Regions from separate parts of the Homo sapiens genome. Here region 1 is linked to region 2. Evidence: promoter capture Hi-C in 16 types of primary human blood cells and fetal thymus (Javierre and others, 2016). All regions are on one chromosome and are shown on one strand. Each heading gives the region's core, a stretch centred on a gene start or on the middle of the fragment in contact. The rest is flanking DNA. Distances are from core to core; before and after follow the strand shown. Region 1 overlaps MYLK (myosin light chain kinase). Region 2 holds the start of MYLK (myosin light chain kinase).

What was found. Contacts are between HindIII fragments. The CHiCAGO score rates a contact against its expected background, and 5 or more counts as called.
Region 1: a fragment that was not itself captured here is called in contact with the fragment with the promoter of MYLK in region 2 in 1 of 17 cell types (endothelial precursors); the score reaches 7.6 in endothelial precursors.

The regions. Positions count from the first base shown.
Region 1 is chr3:123,738,200-123,744,202 of GRCh38, forward strand. It overlaps MYLK (myosin light chain kinase), which reads right to left. Exons shown (of 34, transcript NM_053025.4): 6 at 1,754-1,802; 7 at 698-863. Among named protein-coding and RNA genes, the nearest start is that of MYLK-AS2, 52 kb to the left of the region's middle. The HindIII fragment of the contact is 3,540 bases long and covers 1-3,400 here.
Region 2 is chr3:123,882,435-123,889,254 of GRCh38, forward strand. MYLK (myosin light chain kinase) reads right to left here and starts at 1,898. Exons shown (of 34, transcript NM_053025.4): 1 at 1,772-1,898. It also overlaps a transcript of CCDC14 not described here. RefSeq lists a silencer at 1,778-1,937. The HindIII fragment of the contact is 5,860 bases long and covers 1-4,879 here.

The DNA of each region.
Region 1 (6,003 bases), core at 381-2,880, 140 kb before region 2:
CTTCACAGGCTTTATAAACCAGGGAGCTGTGGCTTAACACCTAGAACCCTAACTTCACAGTCCACTCTTGAGATTGTCAGGCTTGTCTTGACTCAGAAGTTTTCTGCTATTTTGTGAGTGTGAGAATTGTCAGAACACTGTGGTCTGAGTAACAGAGGGAGAGTTGTAATAGGGACAGGAACATGCATCCCTAACAAACATACAGAGAACCCCTGAGAACCGCCTGAAACAGGAGGAACAGAATGGAAAGACTCCTACTAGTTGAAGGGTCTAACCCTGAATTTTCAGGGTCCCTAGGGCTATGATATGGTTTGGCTGTGTCCCCACCCAAATCTCATCTTGAAATGTAGCTCCCATAATTCCCACGTGTTGTGGGAGGGACCCAGTGGGAGGTAACTGAATCATAGGGTGGGTTTTCTCATGCTATTCTCATGACAGTGAATAAGTCTCATGTGATCTGATGGTTTTATAAAGAGGAGTTCCCCTGCACATGCTCTCTTGCCTGCCGCCATATAAGGCATGACTTGGCTCCTCATTCACCTTCTGTCATGATTGTGAGGCCTCCCCAGCCATGTGGAACGGTGAGTCCATTAAACCTCTTTCCTTCATAAATTACCCAGTCTCGGGTATGTCTATTAGCAGCATGAGAACAGACTAATACAGGCTGGATCAGGGTCAGGGCAGACAGAAACCTCACCTTGAGCCAGGTGACCTGCGGTTGGGGCCGGCCAGTGATCTTGCAGGAGAATCGTCCCATCTGTCCTTCTTTGACCACAACTCGGCCCAGCTTGGTAGCAAACTTTGGTGGGCACTCCCCCCAGATGCTAGGACGGGTCTCCACTGCTGGAGCTGAAAATCTATCCCTGTAAGGAAATTGGCAGAGAATCCAGTCCCAGACAAGGCAGCAATTCAACCATCCTCTCTCCACCTCACTCAAAGGCACTAAGTTAAGGTCAGAAGCCATCAAAGTGTAGCCTTCCCAATTTTATGCCTCAGAAACTTTCTCATGCTCTCTCTAGAAAAATGTGTGGCACCAAAACCTATTTCCTCTACCTCTTGGGCATGCAGCTAGACTTCATTTACTAGCCTTCCTTGCAGTTAGGCATGCCTGAATTCCACTGAGCCCTGGCTGAAAGCCTGGGTTTTAGCCAGGAGACCATGAGCAGAAGAGCTGTATGCCACTTCCAGGGCCGACTCATAAGAACCTCCTGTGAGGCTCTGCAGTCTCTCGTCCACTCTGCTGGTGAGATGCAGAAGGCCCAGTGGGGGCTCAAGGGCCTAGGAGATGAAACTATAAAATGGAAGAAGCCTGGGCTCCTGGAAGATAATGTGGAAGGCTCTCCCCATGTTCCAGGATATCTGAACTGAACTTTCCCTGAGTAAGAAACAAACTTTCCCTGGGTTGAGCCACTGTGATTTGAGGCTTGTCTGTTACAGCAGCTACTGTTACCCGCCTCTTCTAGGCTTGCTTATTTCAATCTTCTGACTATTGCCTTGATTGTTAGAGTCCACTGCAGACTCTGGCCACCTCTCCCACTTCCTTACATTTAGCAGCTGGGCCAGTCAAAGGAGCCAATCACAGAGGCAGCCAGGTCAGGAGGTGCTGTGTAAATGACACATCTCATTGTACTAGGCTCCCGCCCTTTGGTTATTATAACCTAGGAGAGCCAAGACTTACTCCCCAGACCTATCCTGCTCAAGTCAGCAGGAAAGCAATCCAACCCTTACTCTGTCTTGAACATCCAGGACTTACCCTAAGGTTTTGGAAACAACAGGCTGACCAAGCTGCTTCGCAAAACTTCCTGCAAGAAAAAGAGTTGATGAGTCAGGTCTGAGCCACCAACTTGGAGCAATGAAAGTAAAAAGATTCAACAGCAGGGGTGGGTGGGATAGTGATGGTGATCATTAATCTTGACTGAGCATGGGCTGTGTCACTATGGATACTATGGTAGGTGTTTACATACATTATCATGTGAATTTCTTGCAATAATTTTATGAAGCTGATACTACATTATCCTATTTTTTAAACAGATGAGAGAAATAAGATTCAGAGAAGTTAAGTCATCCATACAAGGTCACAAAGTCAGTAACAGTGCAGAAATTCACCCAGGTCTGCCAGATTCTAAAACTCTCAACCACCCTGCTGAGTTGTTAGGGTAGTACGCTCTACCTTCCATTTTGGGGATTATTTGGGGGTGATTCAGGACCTCTCCAGAACATTTTCTCAGTTAAAGGGAGGGAGGGAAAGGCCCATGCCTATCTCTTACCACACCTACTCTTGACTGACACAATCAACACTCCATTCTTCCACTTAAGGCCTGGCAAGTAGCAGCAAGCTGAAAGAGAGCAGGACAGGTCACTGCAGATGAGCTACAGCGGAGCCAGCAGCTCCTGCAGAATCTGCAGTGCTGCCACACTGAACACTGCCAGTCCTGGGCAAGGTGCTGCTATGCTGGACACTGCCAGTCCTGGGCAAGGCGCTGCTATGCTGGACACTGCCAGTCCTGGGCAAGGCGCTGCTATGCTAGACACTGCCAGTCCTGGGCAAGGCGCTGCTATGCTGGGCACTGCCAGTCGGTCCTAGGTGAGATGATGAGGCCATAGTAGGCGCTATCCTACTGGGCGCTGCTGATCCTGGGTGAGCTGTTGCCGTGCTAGGCAGGAGGCCATTAAATAGCAAAGCCAGCAAGGCAGCTGGGGTTAGCTCCTTTCATCCAGCTCCTGCAGCTGGGAGGGACAATTCACAATGTCACCATGAAATAACTCTAAAGTAGTGGGAGTTTTATTTTGAGGGGTGGGGTGGGAGGAAGAGGTCTTTTTTGAGATGATGATCACCCTGAAAGTTGTTCTTCTTTTGCCGCAAGCTGGGGATGTTTATAAAACCCTATCCCAGGGAGGGTAGAGTCATCCTCTGATATCAGCAGACAGTTGCTGTGGGGAATTTGCAGGGAGTTTACTGCAAAAGAGTAAACTTCCTTAACTTTGACTCTGATCACATTTATATGACTGTGTAAGAACATAGGTGTGGAGGAGAAAAATCATGGCTATTTTCATCAGCCACACCCGGTTTAAGATTCCACCAGAACTTTAGTGAAAAGGGATTAATAACAAACACTGGCATCACATTTAAGCTGTGGCTCCATATAATTGGTGATTACGATACAGGCATTTCTGTTTAACATTACTTAGTGAGCTGTGTCTAGTTTTCATTCCTGAAAGTGTTTTGGTTTTTGTCATTCCATTCTCTATTCAAAAGTAAAAGAACTTCTAAATTGATAAAAGGAGAGACTTGTTTTGAAAGGACCCAACTGACAGTCAAGATGCTGGGCCCTCAGATGCTGCTGGAGGCAGAGCCAACTGTCCAGTCCTCCTGGAAATACTTGAGTGAGGAAAAATCATAAGCTTTAAAGATGCTCTGCTCTTGGGACAGCACCTCCGTTTCTGTGACTCCATTCAAAGGAAACGACGCTAAAGTTAGAAGAGAAAGTTTACACAGCTATTCACTTTTATCTTATTTGTAATAGTGAAAGTTAGAAGCAACATAAATGTCACTCAGTAGGAAGAAAATAAGTAGTCAGGTAAAATGTACAATTAGACATCTTATTCTGCCATTAAATTATGTTTAAGAATATCTGAAACGTGCAGGTACATGTTAGGATATTATCTCATTCGTTCCTCAGCACACTCCAAATGGGCTATGATCCTCTCCGCTCCACTGGGCTCCATCCCAGCCACAATCTTGTCAAACCCAATGGTTGACACTCTGTCTCCATCTCACTCAGATGCTCAGTAGTATCTGACACAAGGTCCCACTCCCCTTCAAAGCACTTTCTCTTCTAGACTTTCCTGCTTTTACCAGGTTATTCATCTTCTCTCAACCTCCTTCTCTGCTCAACCTTTGCATGCTGGGGCACCCTAGGGCTGAGTCCTGGGCCTCTCCCCAGCTCCATCTAATTTCTCCCAGGAGGTCTTAGTCCCATAGCTTTAAATATCATCTATATGCTAAAGACCCAACCCATATCCCCACTAGAACTTCTTATTCACTCATCAGATGTATCCGGAACAAATCCCAGCACATTGTAGGTATTTAAATATTTGTTAAATACATTTTGTGCAGCATACAAAATTACCTATTTAATGTGATCATAATTAGGTAAAACTAAAATACCCAAAGACAGGAAAATGACAAGAAAAGGTATCATGTTATTAATACTGATTATTTTGGGGGTTGTGGTACTCTGAGTAATTTTATTCAGCTGTATTTTCTAAAACCTATAAATACAATGGTAAAGAAGAAATAAAACATGAAAAACATAATCTAGTTGCAAAAAAAGGGGCAGGGAGGAAGAAAGTAAAATCTGGCATCCAAATAGAGGATGGATAGGGCCTTCTAAACACGCTCCATACAACAGCATTATCCAGTCTCTAACATTTCATCACAAAATATCCGTGTACCATCCATTGTACTACCCACACTACTGTATCACTCATTTCATCTGGGAATAAAGATTTTATAAAAATTAGACTGATTAACTGATGAATGGATAAAGAAAATGTGGTGCATCCATACAATGAAGTATTATTCAGCTGTAAAAGGAATGAAGTACTAACACGTGGTACAACATGGATGGACATTGAAAAAGTGCATTAAGTGAAGGAGCTCAGACCCAAAAGGCCATGTATGATAGGATTCCGTTCATATGAAATGTCCAGGAGAGGCAAATCCATAGAGAAAGATGGTGGTTAGTAGTTGCCAGGAGCTGGGGGAGGAGGGGATGGGGAATTAATGCTCAATAGGTATGGGGTTTCCATTTGGGGTAATAAACAAGTCCTGGAATGAGATAGCAGTGATGGCTGCACAACACTGTGAATGTACTTAATGACAATTGTACACTTTAAAATGGTTAAAATGGTAAATTTTATGTTAGGTATGTATATTTTACCACAATAAAAAAAATTAGACTGAGCATTTTAAAAAGTCTTGGGAGCTAAATATCTTAATCCAAAAGGCTTAAATTCCTTTCTTCCTTAAAAAATAAATAAAAGCAAAAACATGGCACTTTCCCAAAGAATAGCAAAAGAATGCTGGGGAGAGATACTTCTATGTCAGGGTAAGAGGGTATGATGAAAACATATCACATAAAGCAGTCAGCTAAAAATGGAATTGATGGATGCTTATTTTAATATGAGTTAACAGAGAGTTCACATCAAGACAAAAAGAATTTAGGCTAAAATTACTAACAGGGTCTATTTATAGGAAAAATTTGAAGTTGCAAATTGTTAGATAAGGCAAAATTAATTTTGTAAAAGTATGAAAATCTGGCAGAACAGTAAGGTTATGTAGAAAAATAAGTGGAAAGGGGATTAAAGTAGAAATGCAAAAAATAGAAGAATGAGTTAAGAGAACTGGTGAGGACAGAAGCAAGTTGCTGAGAAAAAGGAGAGGCCAAGACACTGACGGTATTTGATCTTAGATTTTTCAAAGACAAGTAAAAGAGAATGCTGGCAGGTCTTAGGATTGGAAAGTTCAGTGGTGGAAGGGATAAGGTAGACCTAGCTCTGTTTGTCAGGTGATACAGAAAGACTGAATCGGGTCAGAACATACTGCTCAAAAAGTGAATAATGTGATCAAAATTGAAAGGAGCCGAAATGCTTCTAAAAATGTGCGGTGATATAATTTATCATCCAAACAGAGACTCTCAACACTGAGAGAGATGCAATTAATAATCATGCCAGGATAGCAGGAGAAAGCTAGGACTGTTCCAGGAAAAGTGGGGAGCAGTCACCCTACTTGTAGCCAACTTCAAAGTGTTTTTTGAGGATTACTTAAAATAGTGGTTCTCCACTCTATCAGAACAAATATCCGCTTTTTATAACACGTATTAACTGATATCCCCATGCGACCCTGATCAAAATTCCCTTCTAATCACACATACACGTATGTGATAATTTCAAAAAGAAAATAAATGTAAAGCCTTAACTAAAGCATTACGGTGATATAGA
Region 2 (6,820 bases), core at 648-3,147:
AATAAGACAAGGAAACATCTACAATGCTGCAGCTACCCTCCTCCTCAGCTAGCCAGTTATTACACAAAAGAAACTGAACATGGGAGATAAACCAGCATAAATGCTTCCCCACTGTGGGGTGGTTCTCCAAGCTCATGCTTAGCTGCAAATGAGGTCCAGCATCCTTTGTATCATCAGTGAACAATGAGACAGACCTGCACATCTTGGCAAAAAAAGCTCTTGTGCATGTCCCCAGAGTACCCGCTACCCAATCCAGCATCCAGAGTCCAACCACTCCGGACCCAGGACCAACTGCTCAGGTTCCTCCCAGACCCAAGGCTCCTGGCCCACTGAGAGTGGGAGAAAAAGGGGTAACCTCACTCTGGGCAGGAAGGAAAATTCCATGCTGCCCTAGAGCACTGTGGTGCCAGCAGCATCATCCTCCACAGTCCCACAGTGTGCAGGCGGGGAAGAGACTAAGAGAATCACGGAAGAGAGAAGGAGGTCAAGAATTTAAGAGAAAAGAAAACAGTTCTATTAGAACCCTAAATGCCTTGTAGGAACCTAGTAAAGTCACCAGATGCACCTACACTTCTCCCAGAGACTTGCATTGTTGATTCCTGATTCTTTGAAGTGTGGGCGGGGTTCCCCAAATGGTCCTCCTAAGCCCACCATCTGGAAATAATTTATTGATAAGTGCATTTTGACAAAAAGTATTCCATTCAGGTGGAGAAGAACACAGCCTCTCTTGGAAGGGGGATGCAGCTCCAGGGCAGGCTCTCAAAGGCTGTGGGGTGGGCGGGTCATTGCATATACTCTGGTCTTTGCACTTGGGGAGAGGAGGGATGGTAAAAACCAACGGCCTGAGGTCTGGCATCATGCCCACTGCCCAGGTGTTTCCCTACACCCACCCAGCTCCCTGAATCACAACAGCTAATTTTACTCCCTCTAGACTCTAGTAGAGCTGGGTCTTCTCCTTCTGGCTACGAAATAGAAAGTGCCCCGCACCCCAACACACACACCCCAATCTAAAAAAAATATATATCCTTGAAACCATTTCCCCATCAGCCCATCTTCACATCTGCAATGCCACTCCTAGAAATTCAGTCCTTTGGGTCTTGAAGGGTTTTAGTTCCATAAGTTCCAGGGAGGGGTCTACCTCAACCATTGACAACTCACATCTCCTGAGAAGTTTATCCAAAACTTTCCAACTGCAATCATCGGCGAACAAGGTCCCTCAACAATGGGACCCCAGTTAACGCGAAGGAGGCAGAGCGAGGTAAGGAGCTTAAATGAGGAGTATGGAGTAGGAACAAGTCTGCAAAGCCCGCGCCCCAGCTTCGCCTGGGATGGCCAGGTCTGGCACTCGCGGGCCGCCTTCCCCGCCCTACCTTCCCGGAATCACATTTGGGCTGGAAGGACCTTCACGTGGCACCCCCTTCCCAGAGGCCGTCACCGAGTCCTCTAGCGAGGGTCTGGGAGCTGGGAGAAGGGTCCGCTTCTCCTCCGCCCCTCAAATCAAAGGCACCCCCTTCGGATGATTCCTAGAAAGGCAATCGCATCAGTGTCCCCAAGCACTTCATCTCCCCAAAAGAAAACTCGTGCAGCCTGGCGTCACTGGGGTCGTCTCCTTACGCCCCTGACTCCTCGCCGCACCCCGGGGCCCCTCTCCATTAGGGGAGTCGGGAGGCACAGACGGTGGGGGTCCCAGCCCCCACCCAGAACTCCCACCCTCGGAGCCTTGACTTCCAGGGCCCGCGCCTGGACAAAAGCATGGGGCGGGCTCACTCACCCGCGCGGCGAAGGCGGCCCGGGAGCCGGGGCACCGGCGCTCGGCGGGGCGCCCCGGCCGCAGGCGCACAGCGCGGGCTCCGAGCTCGCTCAGCGCCCTGCTGCCGACCGGGCGGCGCGGGGAGCCCGCGAGGCGCGTCCGGGACTGGGCAGGGCGGGGCGGGGCGGGGCGGGGCGGGGGTGAGCGAACCGGCGAGAGAGAGAGCAAGTGGGAGAGCGGAGAGCGGACGCGCGCTGAGGAGAGCGAGTGAGAGCGCGGCGCTACGGGGTCAGGACTCAAACCACCCGCTCCAGCCCCCATGCACTGATTTGCATGACATTTGCATAGCGCTCGGGGAGTGGACCTGCTGCCCTTCCCGCCACGCCCACCCGCCTTCTGCCTCGGAGTCCGGAGCGGAGAATCCGCAGCCAAACCTAGCGCCAGACCCGGGCCCCCCTCGCACTTATCCTGCACCGCCCCAGTTAACTCCTCGCAGGCGGCGGTCAGCGGGCTGGTACTGTCTTGGTGCGTGTCTTAGTCCTACACTGGGAGACCTAGGCCTTAGGTCGGGGTCTGATGCTAGCTTCGTGAGCGTGCATGAGACACTGGCTGCCTCTGGGCCTCAGTTTTCTAATCTGTAAAATGAAGATGTCAGCGGAACCATGGGGCTAAAGTTTTAGTGCTGGAAGGTTGTCTATGTAGTTTTTTTCAGACATCCTCCAGTGGTGCAACTCAGCCCCATGGTTCCTCTGACATCCTCCCTTTGTGTGTGTTAAGAATCTCTCATTGGTTTGGAAGATACCTACAAAGTTCTTTAAATTAAAAAAGGGGAAAGGGGAGGGGGGGGAGGGGAGGGGGAGGAGGTGTTTCTGGTTTTGGCTTGCTTTATATTTAGTTTGCACCCAATATGAAATATTTTATAGCTTCTGATCTCTTCACTTGGACCTTCTTTTGTTTTTTTTAAAAAAACTGTTTACTGCAGGTTAAGGAGTGTTTTTAAAAATTTTTTAATTGTAAAATAAAACATAAATACAGAAAACCACAAAAAACAAATATATAGATATATAGACTAGTGAATTATTATAAAGGGAACATCCTTGTAATCACCACCTGGATCAAGAAATAGAACTCTGCCAGCCACCCCAGGAGCCTCTCCATGTGCCCTACCTCAATGACAACCCCCTTTCTCCCTCCTCCCAAAAGTAACCACTAACCTGACTTTCATGTAGTCACTTCTGCTGCTTTTGTTTTTCTTGGTATCTTCCAAGGGTGCACCTTACCCCTCCCCCCACTCTTTTTTTTTTTAATTTGATTTGCCTTTTCAGTCTTTTCCTTACAATTATTTGTTAAATAACTTAAGCCCTTGATCTGTGAGGTTTTCCAGAGTCTGGGGGTTGCACATTCATGAGGCAATTCAGCATGTTTCTCTGTCCTCTGTATTGACAGCAAGTTGGCAGCTGATCCAGGGTCTTCCTCAGACTGAAGTTTGATGTCTTTTGTAAGATTATAGATGGTTGTGTGTTCTTTTCTTCAAGAGGTACATGATCATGATGTCTGGTGTTTGCTCTTTTTTGAGGTTAACAGCCGTCGATGCTCAATTCCTAGATTCATTAATTAATTGAAGTTTGCAAAATCATGGTATTCTAATAATTTTGTTTTCATTTATTAGTTCATAAGTGGATAAGGAGATGCTTCCTCTCATCTACTATTTGATTACCCTGAGATAGGAAAGGCACGATGAATACCTGCTTTTTTTTAAAAAAATTACCCAGTTTTCAAGTTAAGGAATTGATTCTCTGTCATTCTTAGATTTCTTTAATATCATTATAAATTCATGAATTTAAATATATTTGATAGGTTTCCATCTACGATATTAGAGCTCAAATTGTCCCATCTTTGGCCAGTAGGAGCTTCTTCAATATGGCTCCTGGCTCCTTTTGATAAGATTCTAGTAGTCTTTTTTTTTTTCTCTCTCTCTCTCTCTCACTAGTGTGCAAAGAGCTTCAAAGACCCTAGAAGTCTTTGATAGCTTCCTTGCTATCTGATATGACAAGATGTTCCAGGCACATCTGTACATTTGCTGCCTCAAACCTGGAATCAGCCATTTCTCCAAGAAGCTCTAGTTTTTTTGTTTTTTCTTTCCTTCCTTCCTTCTCTCTCTCTTTTTCTTTCTTTTTTTCTTTCTTTCTTTCCTTCTTTCCTTCTTTCCTTCTTTCTTTCTTTCTTTTCTTTCAGATGGAGTCTCACTCTGTCACCAGGCTAGAGTGCAGTGGCACGATCTCGGCTCACTGCAACCTCCACATCCCTGGTTCAAGGGATTCTCCTGCCTCAGCCTCCTGAATAGGTGGGATTATAGGCACGTGCCACCACACCCAGCTAATTTTTGTATTTTTAGTAGAGACGGGGTTTCATCATGTTGGCCAGGATAGTCTCAATCTCTTGACCTCGTGATCTGCCCACCTCGGCCTCCCAAAGTGCTGGGATTACAGGCATGAGCCACCCCGCCTGGCCAGAAGCTCTAGTTTCTTTTGTTGAAATTTTAAGATAACAATATGAGCACTAGGAGTATTCATTGTTACTAGGTTGGTAACTGTTTCTAGGCCTTTTCAATAGACAGAGCTACTAAAGAATACTTCATTTTTTTATATTCTAGAGAAATATTATTCTTCATAATATTTTCATCAGTTTATATTATTTCCAATTTAATTTCAGGACTGTAGTTTTTACTTAACATATATTACATTAGGACCTCTTTTCTTTCATGTAGAGAATTCTGGTTCTCAAGGACAAAAGGGAGGATGAAATTAGAATATCCCAATTTACTAATTTGCTTTAGTTTGCATTAAACATATAATAATAATCTCAGAATAACAATATTAATACTACCATCATCAGTTTTGATTCTTGAAAACAGTTTTTTTTGCATATGCTATCCATCTTTTATAGTTATACTCTATCTAAATTATCAGCTTCTATAGCCATCTATACCATAATCTTCCTATTTAACCCTAATTTAGTCTTAATTTTACAGTTCTACAATTCTAATCCTAATTAAAGTTCAAATATATATTTAATGCTTACCATTAGTTCCTTATGTTTATGTATCTTTAGTCATTTTGGTTGTCTGAAAGCTTGTCCTCTACTAGATTCCTTAGGAAGGGCTCATGGAAAGAATATGCTCTGAGTTCTTGCATGTTGCTTACAGTTTGTTCATGCCATTTTACTTGAAGGTCAATTTTGTTGGATTCAAACTACTTGGTGTCTTGGTCCAGCTGGGTTGCTATAACAACAACAACAAAAAAAAAAAACACAAAATAAGTGGCTTATAAACAAGAAACATTATTTCTTATAGTTCTGGGGGCTGGGAAGTCCAAGATCAAGGCTCCAACAGATTCAGTATCTGTTGAGAGCCCTCTTTCTGGTTTGTAGACGGCACCTTCTCACTTTGCCTAGATGCCCAAATAACTTTATCTTTTTCTTTCAAATCCAGTAATTTTATTAGAATGTTTGTTGGTCATTCTAGTTTGAAAGTAAACAGTGTGTATTTCTTTCAAAATGTGGTTTCAAATACATATATTTTGTTAATTTCAGGAAAATTTTCTTCAATTAAAGTCTTAAATATTTGTTCTGTTTTGGATTGCTTTAGACTGCTTCTCTGGAGACTTCTATTATCTGCATATTGAACCTTTTTTGTCTATCTTCAACATTTGTCACTTTCCCTTAAATCTTTTTAATTTCTTTCTTCATTTGTTTTTAAGTTTATAAATTTCCCTCCTTTTTACCTTATTTTCTTTTAAGTTTTTATTAGTTATATTTATGTGTTCTTGTGTTCCTTATAGGTCAATCTTTATTTCTCAAATGCTTTTTAAAATGTTTAATTCCAAAAAAAAATAAAAAATAAAACGTTTAATTCTTCTGTGAGTTCTGTTCTAATTTCTGAGTTTCTCTAATTCTGATGTATGTTGTTCTTTCATGTTTCATGTCACTCAGTGTGTATTAGCTTTTCTAGGACATTATAGCTTTAATTTTTTTGAGAATATCTTTCTGGAGGTTATTATGATCTTTATTCACTTTGTTGTAGTAGCTATATGAGAGTTGACCTTAGTATTTTTTTTGTTGATCATTTTTACATGAATTTTGTTTTCTTGAACTTTTAAAAGGAGATTTGGTCCAGACAGTTTTTCAAACTTCACAAAGCTTTCCCGTTTGTTGTTTCTGAGTAGTGTCAAAAAATATATATGGTGGCTGGACTTCTAAGATTTCCTGGCTCTGTTTCCCTCACTCACTTTTATCTGGCTCTTCTTTTTCTTTCAACTTGCATTAGTCAGTTTTCACACTGCTATAAAGAGCTACCTGAAACTGGGTAATTTATGAAGAAAAGAGATTTAATTGACTGACAGTTCCTCAGGCTTAACAGGAAGGATGACTAGGGAGCCTCAGGAAACTTACAATCATAGCAGAAGGTGAAGGGGAACCAAGTGCTTTCTTCATATAGTGGCAGGAGAAAGAGAGAATGCAGGGGGAAGTGCCATACACTTTTAAACCATCAGATCTTGTGAGAACTCACTTATTATCATGAGAACAGCAAGGGGGAAATCCACCCCCATGATCCATGATTTAATCACTTCTCACCAGGCCCCTCCTCCAATTCAACATGAGATTTGGGTGGGGACACAAATCCAAATCATATAATTCCACCCCAACCCCTCTCAAATTTCATGTCCTGCTCACATTGCAAAATATAATTATCCCTTCTCAATAGTCTCCCAATCTTAACTCATTTCAACATTAACTCAAAAATCCACAGTCTAAAGTCTCATCTGAGACAAATAAATCCCTTCTGCCTATGAACCTGTAAAATCAAAAACAACTTAGTTACTTCCAAGATGCAAGGGGGATATAGGCATTGGGTAAATGCTACCATTCCAAAAGGGAGAAATTGCAGCCAGGTGCAGTGGCTCACACCTGAAATCCCAACAATTTGGGAGGCCAAGGCAGGTGGATTACTTGAGGTCAGGAGTTCAAGACCAGCCTGGGCAACATGGTGAAACCCTGTCTCTACTAAAAATA